2 separate regions of the Homo sapiens genome follow, and region 2 is linked to region 1. The links are contacts of gene promoters, found by promoter capture Hi-C in blood cells and fetal thymus (Javierre and others, 2016). All regions are on one chromosome and are shown on one strand. Each heading gives the region's core, a stretch centred on a gene start or on the middle of the fragment in contact. The rest is flanking DNA. Distances are from core to core; before and after follow the strand shown. Region 1 holds the start of ACY1 (aminoacylase 1). Region 2 overlaps DNAH1 (dynein axonemal heavy chain 1).

Region 1 (4,994 bases), core at 974-3,473:
ATGCGCCACTTCCTAAGTGCCTGGCCTCACCACTCTGTGCCTGAGTTTCCTTATCTGTAAAACGGGTATGATGGCAACACCTAGGTTGGAGGGTGGTTATAGGACTGAATGAGTCTGGATAACTGAGTACTTGGCCACATAAGGCTGGGGAATTGCTGGTGGGAGGCGGGGTGTATTACTGCTGCTGCATGACCACAGGGATTGGTGGGAAATCCAGGGTCTGGACAGCCAAGCCAAGGAAGTCAGGAACCTAGAGGGTATGGGGAACGCGATTTAACAATTAGCCAGCATTGGCCGGGCGCAGTGGCTCACACCTGTAATCCCAGCACTTTGGGAGGCCGAGGCAGGCGGATCACGAGGTCAGGAGATCGAGACCATCCTGACTAACACGGTGAAAACCCGTCTCTACTAAAAATACAAAAAATTAGCCGAGCGTGGTGGCGGGTGACTTTAGTCCCAGCTACTCAGTAGGCTGAGGCAGGAGAATGGTGTGAACCCGGGAGGCGGAGCTTGCAGTGAGCCAAGACCGAGATCACACCACTGCACTCCACCCTGGGTGACAAAGCGAGTGAGACTCCGTCTCAAAAAAAAAAAAAAAAAAAAAAAAAAAAAAAAAAAAAAAAACCAGCATTAGCTGGGCACTGTGGCTCACATCTGTAATCCCAGCACCTTGGGAGGCCAAGGCGGGTGGATCACCTGAGGTCAGGAGTTCAAGACCACCCTGGCCAACATGACAAACCCTGTCTCTACTAAAAATACAAAAATTAGCCCAGCGTGGTGGCACGCACCTGTAATCCCAGCTACTCTGGAGGCTGAGGCAGGAGAATCACTTGAACCCAGGAGGCGGAGTTTTCAGCGAGCCGAGAAGGAGCCACTGCACTCCAGCCTGGGCAGCAGAGTGAGACTCCATCTCAAAAAAATAAATAGCTAAATAATTAGCCAGCATTGTTATGAGTTAAAGTCTATTTGCCCGCATGAATAAATAGGTAAATAATTAGCCAGCATTGTTGTGAGTTAAAATCTATTTGCCCGCATGACAGAGTGAGACTCTGTATCAAAAAAATAACTAAATAAAGAATTATCCAGCATTGTTATGAGTTAAAGTCCATTTGCCCCCATGTTATGTGTGAGCAGCCAAGACTTAAACCTCAGGAAAGGTGGGACAGAACCCTTCCCACAGCGTGCCTCCTTGGCCTAGAGATTGAAGTCTTTGTCCCTCACCCTTCCCCAAGCTGACTCAGCCCCTGGAGCAGAGGGCAGACCTGGCTGGGAGTACAAAGGGCAGCTGGGGCACAAGTGGGCAACTGCAGCTGTGGCCTGCAGGGGGCCAGTGGTACACCTGTGCCTGTTTAGCCTCCCCCTCTGGTGGCTGCAGAAGAGCCAGTTTCCTCACACTGTCCATCCAGGGTCACAATTACATCCATTCACAGTGACTTCATCACACCCACCCACCATCTCACACTGTCACATACACAATCATATCCACTGATAGACTGCACACGCAGTGGCACGCTTAAACCGTCACACGTGCTCTTGTCCATGCATTCATTCCCATTCTAGGCACTGTCCGGGCTCGGCACGGCCCCGGGCAGAACCTTGCAGGAAGTGGAGCTCACAGCCTCCTGGAGTTCAGTGTGGGCAGACAGACATTGGCCAATAACTTCAGTACAAGTGGAGCTGAGGCGTCAGGGAGGACCTCCCCGAGGGGCTGAGGCCTGCAGTGGGGAGCCGTTGGAGACTTGCCGAGGAGGGCGAGGGCGCAGGCCCAGGGCTTTGCAGCTCTGCATCTTGAGAGCCTCGGGGCGGCCCCCTTTCCTCCCGCCCTATCCGGGGGCTGAAGGAGGAGGCGCCCTTAGGGGACGGGACCGTCCTGAGCTCCCGGCGCATACCTGGGGGCAGGAGTGGCAGGCGTGTCGTGTGGGGCGGGGCGAGCCTGTCAGAGCAGGGCCAGCCCGGAGCTCGCAACTCGCGGGGCGGCGCTGGCCGCGGCGGCCGCTGCCCGGGGACGGGATCCGGATCTAATCCTCCAGTAATCTCGCTGAGGCCCGAACCAGAGGCGGGCGGGGACATCCGCGCCGACGCGGCCGCTGGCGCCGGGACGGCCCTCACTGACGGTCTTCGGTCTCCGCCCCGACATCCGGCCTCGGCCACGTGGTGGGCGGACCGGGGCGGTCCTGAGCCTGCGACCTCGCAGGCGACCTCGCTGGACCCTAAGTCCAGGCCACAGTCAGGGAAGGGCGCTGAGAGGCGAGCGTGAGCCCAGCGACAGGAGAGTGAGGTGGGGGCCCTGGGGAGGGATAGAGGGACTGGGGCTCCGTGGCTTGAAAGCCGGGCAACTGGGAGGCGTTGGGGTTTTTCTTGTTTGTTTTTTGTTTTTGTTTTTGCCTTTTTTTTTTTTTAGGAGGGCGGGGGGAGTACAAGTCTGGGTTCAAACCTTGCTCAGCTACTCTATGAGCTGTCCTTGAACCTCTCTGAGCCTCTCAGCTTTCTCCTCTGTAAAGTGGGCATTCTGAGCACAAACTTCATGGGGCTCTTTTGGGGATTAAATAAGGAAATGTGCTGGAAGCAGACAGCCCAGCGCCTGAAACAGAATGGGTGCTCCTTAATGGGGGCTCCGAAACACGGTATCCTACCCCTGTGGGAAGTCCGGGAGCCGCCGTGGGGACAGGCTGTGTGCAGGAGCTCACCATTTCCAGGGTCTTGGAGGGGTAGTTAGCCATTCACTTTGCCCCCAGCTCACCACGCGCAGCGCCATGACCAGCAAGGGTCCCGAGGAGGAGCACCCATCGGTGACGCTCTTCCGCCAGTACCTGCGTATCCGCACTGTCCAGCCCAAGCCTGACTATGGTGAGAAGACGGTGGTTCCAGAGCCTGTGACGGGGCCTAAGGGACGGGGACTGTGCTCTAAACCAGCCTCCAACCCCTGTCACCCAGCTGAGCCCCACTCTGCTGTCCCAAATGGCTCCCCAACCCCTCCAGCCATTCCCCAAGTAAATAGACTGAGGCAGCCCCTCCAGGTTAGGGAGGAACCCTTTCCCCAGAGACTCTGCTGCTGACCAAGGTTACTCCTGGCAGCTGGTTAAAGAAAAACTTCACCTCACTCTCCAGGGCAGGAGTGGTGGGGGAAGCCTGAGGCAGCCACAGGGAAAGGAGAGGCCCTCCAGAAGCCCACTGGGGCTGGACAAAGGCCACAGCCCTTAGGGAGTCAAGCTTGGTGGCTAGGGCCTGGGAGGTGGCTCCTGCCTGTTATCCCAGCACTTCAGGAGGTTGAGGCTGGCAGATTGCTTGGGCCCAGGAGTTCAAGACTAGCTTGAGCAACATGGCAAGACTCTGTCTCTACAGAAAAAATACAAAAATTAGTCAGGAATGGTGGCACACCTGTAGTCCCAGCTACTCCAGAGGTTGAGGTGGGAGGATCGCTTGAGCCTGGGAGGTTGAGGCTGCAGTGAGCCGAGATCGCACCACTTCACTCCTGCCTTGGTGACAGAGTGAGACCCTGTCTCAAAAAAAAAAAAAAAAAAAGGAAAAGAAAAAAAAAAAACTTAGTGGCTGGGAATTGTGTACATGGGTCCAAATTCCTCCTCTGTGATTAATCAGCTGAGAGATGGTGGGTGAATCTCTTCATGTCTCTGTGCCATAGTTTCCCATATTTAAGGAAGATAACACCTTCCTCCAACCCTGTGTCCAGACATCCCCCTGGACTTCCAGAAAGGGTCACTGAGTAGCCAAAAATATCTTCTTTCTTGGGGATGGAAATGCAAGCATCTCTGAGGGATATGGAGTGTGTCGGGGAGGCAGCAGCCCATTTCTGGGTATGCTCCACTCTCCGGGCTGCCTGGGCTGGTGGGAAGCTGTGGGTAGGCAGAAGCAGCCCCAAGACACTCTGTGCCTCCAGGAGCTGCTGTGGCTTTCTTTGAGGAGACAGCCCGCCAGCTGGGCCTGGGCTGTCAGAAAGTAGAGGTGAGCCTGGGGCCCTAAGCGGGGAAGGGAGGTGGGCCTGGGCACTTCCTCACCCTGCTCAGACCACCTACCCTCCTGACCATCTCCAGGTGGCACCTGGCTATGTGGTGACCGTGTTGACCTGGCCAGGCACCAACCCTACACTCTCCTCCATCTTGCTCAACTCCCACACGGATGTGGTGCCTGTCTTCAAGGTGTGTAAGGGGCTGGGGAGGTGGGCAGTGCAGGCCTTGGGGACAGACATGATGCAGACCCCAGGATTCAACCTCAAGTTGCTCATGGTCCTGGCCCCAGTCCTGACACTAACTCTCAACATCCTTATGACATTACACCACTCAAGCAGCCTTCATCCAGCAGCAAGTTCTGGGCCAGAGTGGGGTGGGGACTGGGGGGTGGGAAGCAGGAGACAGCAATGGGGGATGGCAATCAGCTGCCTTCTTCAGCCCCCGTCTTTCCTCTCCCACCACTCCACCTGTCACTCCAACCCTATGGTGGGCTCCTAGGGCAGGGCCACTGTTGACCAGAGTGGATTAATGGCTAAATTTGGGGTTTGGGCCCCTCTTCCCATCCCTGCCCCCAGGAACATTGGAGTCACGACCCCTTTGAGGCCTTCAAGGATTCTGAGGGCTACATCTATGCCAGGGGTGCCCAGGACATGAAGTGCGTCAGCATCCAGTGAGTGTCCTCCATTCCTACTCCTCCACAATGTCCCCACTGGTCCAGTGGATTGAAGCAGGACCTGAGGGGGTGATTGGAGAAACTCAAGGCCAAGGAACACCGTGACCTCTTGGACAGGAACTACTGCCATGACCATTGCATGGATAGGGAGATTCAGACCAGAGAGGGGCAGGGACTTTCTGGAGTCCCTATCAGGGTGTGGCAGGGTAAAGTCCAGGACACAGGACTCCAGCCTGCTGGCCCTGCCTGTGGGGCCAGCCTGCGCATCTGGTGGCTCCCCCAGCACCTGGCTTATGCCCCCTCAGGTACCTGGAAGCTGTGAGGAGGCTGAAGGTGGAGGGCCACCGGTTCCCCAG
Region 2 (4,929 bases), core at 1,856-4,355, 360 kb after region 1:
CTCGGTCACCTTGTAATTTCAGCTTCCTCCCCGTGATACTTTTATTTTCCATTTTTTCCTTGAGCTTAATTAAGTCTCTTTTCTTACCGACATTTGTCCATTTATATGTTTTATTTTTGAATTTCTGATTCAAGGTGGTTTTTCAGATGCCCAAACACTCGTTTAAGGCTATTTAGCTGAAGTATTGTGTTACAGTTTTCTTCTGCTTGGTACTTGTTTATTTTTTTAGGGGTGATGGGAATTTTATCAGTTAAGATGCTCTTGTCTTCTCAAATGTGCAAACAAAGCTAAAAGATGCTCTCTTTTTCTTATAGAAGCAAATGTAGACGGTGTTCACCTATTCATTTCAGGATTTGGAGTGATTTGCAAGCTTTCTAGTTCAAGGGCGCCCTCTTCTGTCAGTATTGCACATTAGTTTTTTTTGTTTGTTTGTTTTTAGAATGTGCTCTGTGTGTGTGTCTGTGTGTGTGTGTGTGTGTGTGTGTGTACACACGTGCTGGGGAGAGGGATGTGGGTCCTCCAAGGTTTTTGTCCTCTTATCTTGCAGAACTCAACATTTCACTTTTGCTTCTTTTCCCTTATCCTCCAGTCTACAAATGACCCCTTTCCTTCTGCCTCCTGTCCCATAAGTCATATGCCTTTCAAAGAACACTGCCTTTGAATTGCATGCCCTTAAGTCCCTTCCTTGTAGTAAGTGCTCTGATTTACCAGGGCTTTTTTTCAGTATTTTTACAGTTAGGGTTACTTTCTCTTTTTTTGAGATACGGTCTCACTTTCACCCAGGCTGGAGTGCCGTGGCATAATCACAGCTAACTGCAGCCTCAAACTCTTGGGCTCAAGTAATCCTCCTGCCTCAGCCTCCCTGGTAGCTGGGACTACAGGCATGTGCCACCACACCCGCTATTTTTTTATTTTTTGTAGAGATGGGGGTCTCACTTTGTTGCCCAGGCTGGTCTCGAATTCCTGGGCTCAATTCATCCACCCACATTGGCCTCCCAAAGTTCTGGGATTATAGGCATTAGCCACTGCGCCCAGCCTGGGTTACTTTCTCTTTCTGGTAGGATTTTATTTATTTATTTATTTATTTATTTATTTATATTTATTTTTTGAGATGAAGTCTTGCTCTGTCACTCAGTCTGGAGAGCAGTGGTGTGATCTCAGCTTACTGCAACCTCTGCCCTCTGTGTTGAAATGATTCTCCTGCCTCAGCCTCCCGAGTAGCTGGGACTACAGGTGGTTACCACCACGCCTAGCTAATTTTTGTATTTTTAGTAGAGACGGGGCTTCACCATGTTGGCCAGGCTGGTCTTGAACTCCTGACCTCAGGTGATCCACCCACCTCGGCCTCCCAAAGTGCTGGGATTACAGGCATGAGCCACTGTGCCCGGCCTCTGGTAGGATTTTAGATCTATCTTAGGGTTACCACTATTTCCCTTTTCTGCAGTTTTTCTTAGACTGCCCTTGTTCTCTGTGAAAACTTGCAGCAAGAGTGTGAGAGACAGCTCACTGGAGATAGATTTTTTTTTTTTAATTTACAGATAATTTGAAGTCTAGGCATTCTGCTGATTCTAGTTGTGCTAAAGGTGTGGGTTTTGGTAGTGTTAGTTTTTTCTTCCTTCCTTCCTTCCTCCCTCCCTTCCTTCCTTCCTTCCTTCCTTCCTAGGATGTGTTGGGAAATTTGAATCGATATAGCCACCTTACCTTGGCTGTCCAGAAGTCTGTTTCTTGAATTTTATTCAATTTATAATGTTTTTGGCTTTAAGTATCAAAGATGCTGGTCTCAGATTGTCTTAGACAGCAGGGAAGTGCATTCCTGTACCTGTAGCAGGAAAACCAATGCAGGACGCCCCAGGGTTGGTGCATCAGGGCCCTGTCTGCAGTGTATGCTGGCTTCATCTTCAGGCGAGATGGCAGCAGCAGTTTCATGACCACAACAAAGGTTGTCTTAGATTGGGTTCCGTAGAAGCAGACCCTGATGTGGGGACTCTTGTGCAAGCGATTTATGAAATCCTCTCAGGAGAAATCTATAAGGAAGTGAAGGAAGCAGGGTATAATAGAAGAAGCAGCTGGTAAAATATGGTTTTAGAAGTCTAGTCTCAGCCTGATCCTGTGGGAAACTCTAGAGCAAGCATGGCACCACCGTATTTGTCCTGGAGGGAGCCAGAACAAGAGGGCTTGACTTTGACTTTTTTTTTTTTTTTTTTTTTTTTGAGACAGGGTCTTGCTCTGTCCCCCAGGCTAGAGTGCAGTGGAGCAATCTTAGCTCACTGCAAAGGGCTTGACTTTTATATATCTGCATCAGTGGTTGATCATAACTGGGACGTGTTCCCACACCTAAACCAACTGCAGTTGGGGCAAGCTCCACCACGACTGGCTTGGACTAGCTGAGATGTACCCCTGTAGCTGGGGCTGTAGTCATCTTCCCCTGAGTCAAGTGAGGAAGGATGGAATTCTGGAACAAAACTGAGGAAGAAGGGAGGGAGTGGATGTCAGGCCAGCAAGCAGCCATGTGTGGAAGTACCCATCTTGTGCCAGACACTGGGTACAGAGGAGTGAACATTTCCAACAAAGAGCCTGCACCCTGGGGACTCTCAGCCTGGCCAGAAAGACAGACAATGAAAAATCTGGGTTTTTAGGGTTCTGATAAGTGCTGTGAAGACCAAGCGAGAGAAGGGAATAGAGATGTCTCAGAAGGGCTTCTTTATATTAGGCGGTCAGGGAAAGCCTTTCTCACAGTGGTGATAACATTTGAGTTGAGGTCTAAAGTAAGGGAAGAAGAGGATTCTGGCAGAAGGAGCAGCAGTGCAGAGGCTGAGGTAGGGACAAGTTTGTGGTACTTGAGGAGCAGGGCAGGGTTACTGTGGTTGGGATGCAGAGAGAGATGTTGGTCTGGGAGGCTGGACCACATGCAGGGGCAGAGACGCGGCCACAGGCCGACAGTCTGTGCAGGCCATGGGTGGTGGTGAGCAGAGGAGTGGCTTGATCGTTTACATGTTTAAAATATATTTTTTCCAACTCAAGTAGAGAATGAGTTGTAAGGGGGCAAGAGTGGAAGCAGGGAGATCAATGAGGAGACTAATGCCATAATCAGGGCCAGAGATCATGATGGTGGCTTGAACCAGAATAGTAGCTGAGCAGCACGGGAGAAAGAGATATATTTGAGGTTTCCTCAGCGGTGGAGCCAATGAGAGCTGCTAATGGACTAAATGCAAGCTCACCCCAGGTCTGGGGATTTCCAATCTCAAAGCCCAGTTTCAGGATCAGGTGCAGGGGTCACCCACCCTCAGGCCCAGTCATGGTGTTGCACATCCAGTAGCAGGAAGAGACCAGGGACCCCTCCGTAGGGCTTTGGTCAGTAGGGTGTGTGCAATGCTGTTCAGAGACAAGGAGGCTAGTGGGGATAGGGGGCAAGCGAGGAACAGGGGATGGAGAGAAATGAAGAGCTTGCCTTCTGACATGCTGGTTCTGACACGTTGTAAGGCATCCAGTGTCAGTGTTGAGTGGGCTGGTGGATAAATGAAGGGAGAGAACTGCAGATAGGTGTGAGGGTTCTGGCTGAATAGAACAGGTGGTGTTCAGAGTCCGAGGCTGGAGGAGCTCACCTGGTGGGAGGTATAGCTGGGGAAGACGAGGGGTCTCAGGACCCCTGGCACAGGCCAACGTTTAGAAGTCAGGGAGGTGAGGAAGATCCAGGGGAAGGGTGTCCCAGAAGCTCCGTGAGGACAGCGGTGCAGCAGAATAGGAGGGAGCCACTGTGCCAAGTCTCTGAGAGTCCAGTGAGATGAGGCAGAGCCTGGAGTGGCCTCAGGGGTAGCGAGGGAAGAGATGAGGATGGGAAGAAGTGAGCACACCAGTTTTTCATAAAGAAACACAAAGAGATAAAGTCAAAGGAGGGAAGGAAGTCAAGGGGCGGCTTCTAATGTGGGACATACCAGAGTGTGTGGGGACCCCTGGGAGGGCGTGGGAGGGAAGGCAAAGAGACTGAGGTGGCTGAGCTTGCTGGGCTTTTCCTGAGAGCAGGGCATGCCTTCTACCCTGGCAGAAGGCAGGGAGATTCCGGGGTGTGAAGATGGGGTCATTTCTGTCCAATGGCTTCTGAGTTCCGGATGAAATTCGAGGGACTTCACCCAGTGAGGGAGGGTGTGTCTGTGAGTTGGCAGAGAAGGTGAGAGAGAGTCTTTTCCAGGTTCCGAGGGAGTGAGTAGATTTCTAGGCCAGGTTGAGGGTGTGTTGAAGGTGAGACCAGTCCCCTGCCTACGAAGTTCTCCAACATCCCGCAGCTCTGGTGCAAGTGTGGGCTGCAGGAAACTGAGATTCCCTTGTGGTGCCATTACCAGGGCTAAAGGGACTATTCAGATGTGGCAGAGGTGGGAGGGAGGGAGAGATCGATGGCAGAGACCAACTCAAGGAACAGAAAGGCCTGTCCGCAAAGGACAGAGATGCCAGCTGGCTCAGATGAGGCCTGAGCAAGCCAGGTGCCGGAACACAGCGGCATAGGCAACGTGTGCTGAGGAGTGAGTGAGCGAGTGAGTGAGTGAGTGAAATGGCCTCCAAGGGGTCTGCCTATGTGAGGACGGGGGAGATGGTGTGCACGCTCACCCCAGGTCTGCTGATTTCCGATCTCGGAGCCCAGTTTCAAAGTGAAGTGCAGGGGTCACCCACCCTCAGGCCCAGTCATGGGCACATCCTGAGTTCTCAGCACCTTCCAGGCGCTGCCATGATTGCCCAGTGAAAGCAAAGGAGCTCAGTGGCAGGCATCTTCCACTGCACCATGGGGCAGCAGGCGGGGGTGCTGCAGGGGAGGTGCAGGCTGTGAGTGGCAGCTCTCTGAGGCTTCCAGGCCCAGGACTTCCTGCACCCCGTCCCACTGCTCTGGGGCCTGCCTTGGCTCCCAGAGACTGGCAACAGAAAATGGGGACAAGGGGCAGA

What was found. Contacts are between HindIII fragments. The CHiCAGO score rates a contact against its expected background, and 5 or more counts as called.
Region 2: a contact is called between a fragment that was not itself captured here and the fragment with the promoter of ACY1 in region 1, in 4 of 17 cell types (M2 macrophages, naive CD8 T cells, naive CD4 T cells and 1 more). The highest score is 9.0, in M2 macrophages.

Annotation. Positions count from the first base shown.
Region 1 is chr3:51,981,312-51,986,305 of GRCh38, forward strand. ACY1 (aminoacylase 1) reads left to right here and starts at 2,224. Exons shown (of 15, transcript NM_000666.3): 1 at 2,224-2,278; 2 at 2,736-2,847; 3 at 3,896-3,960; 4 at 4,050-4,154; 5 at 4,541-4,635; 6 at 4,944-4,994. The coding sequence starts at 2,754. ABHD14A-ACY1 (ABHD14A-ACY1 readthrough) reads left to right here. Exons shown (of 17, transcript NM_001316331.2): 4 at 2,736-2,847; 5 at 3,896-3,960; 6 at 4,050-4,154; 7 at 4,541-4,635; 8 at 4,944-4,994. RefSeq lists an enhancer at 1-355 and a silencer at 1,809-2,258. The HindIII fragment of the contact is 7,715 bases long and covers 1-3,208 here.
Region 2 is chr3:52,339,345-52,344,273 of GRCh38, forward strand. All of the region lies in intron 8 of DNAH1 (dynein axonemal heavy chain 1), which reads left to right. Among named protein-coding and RNA genes, the nearest start is that of DNAH1, 25 kb to the left of the region's middle. RefSeq lists an enhancer at 4,209-4,710. The HindIII fragment of the contact is 5,475 bases long and covers 369-4,929 here.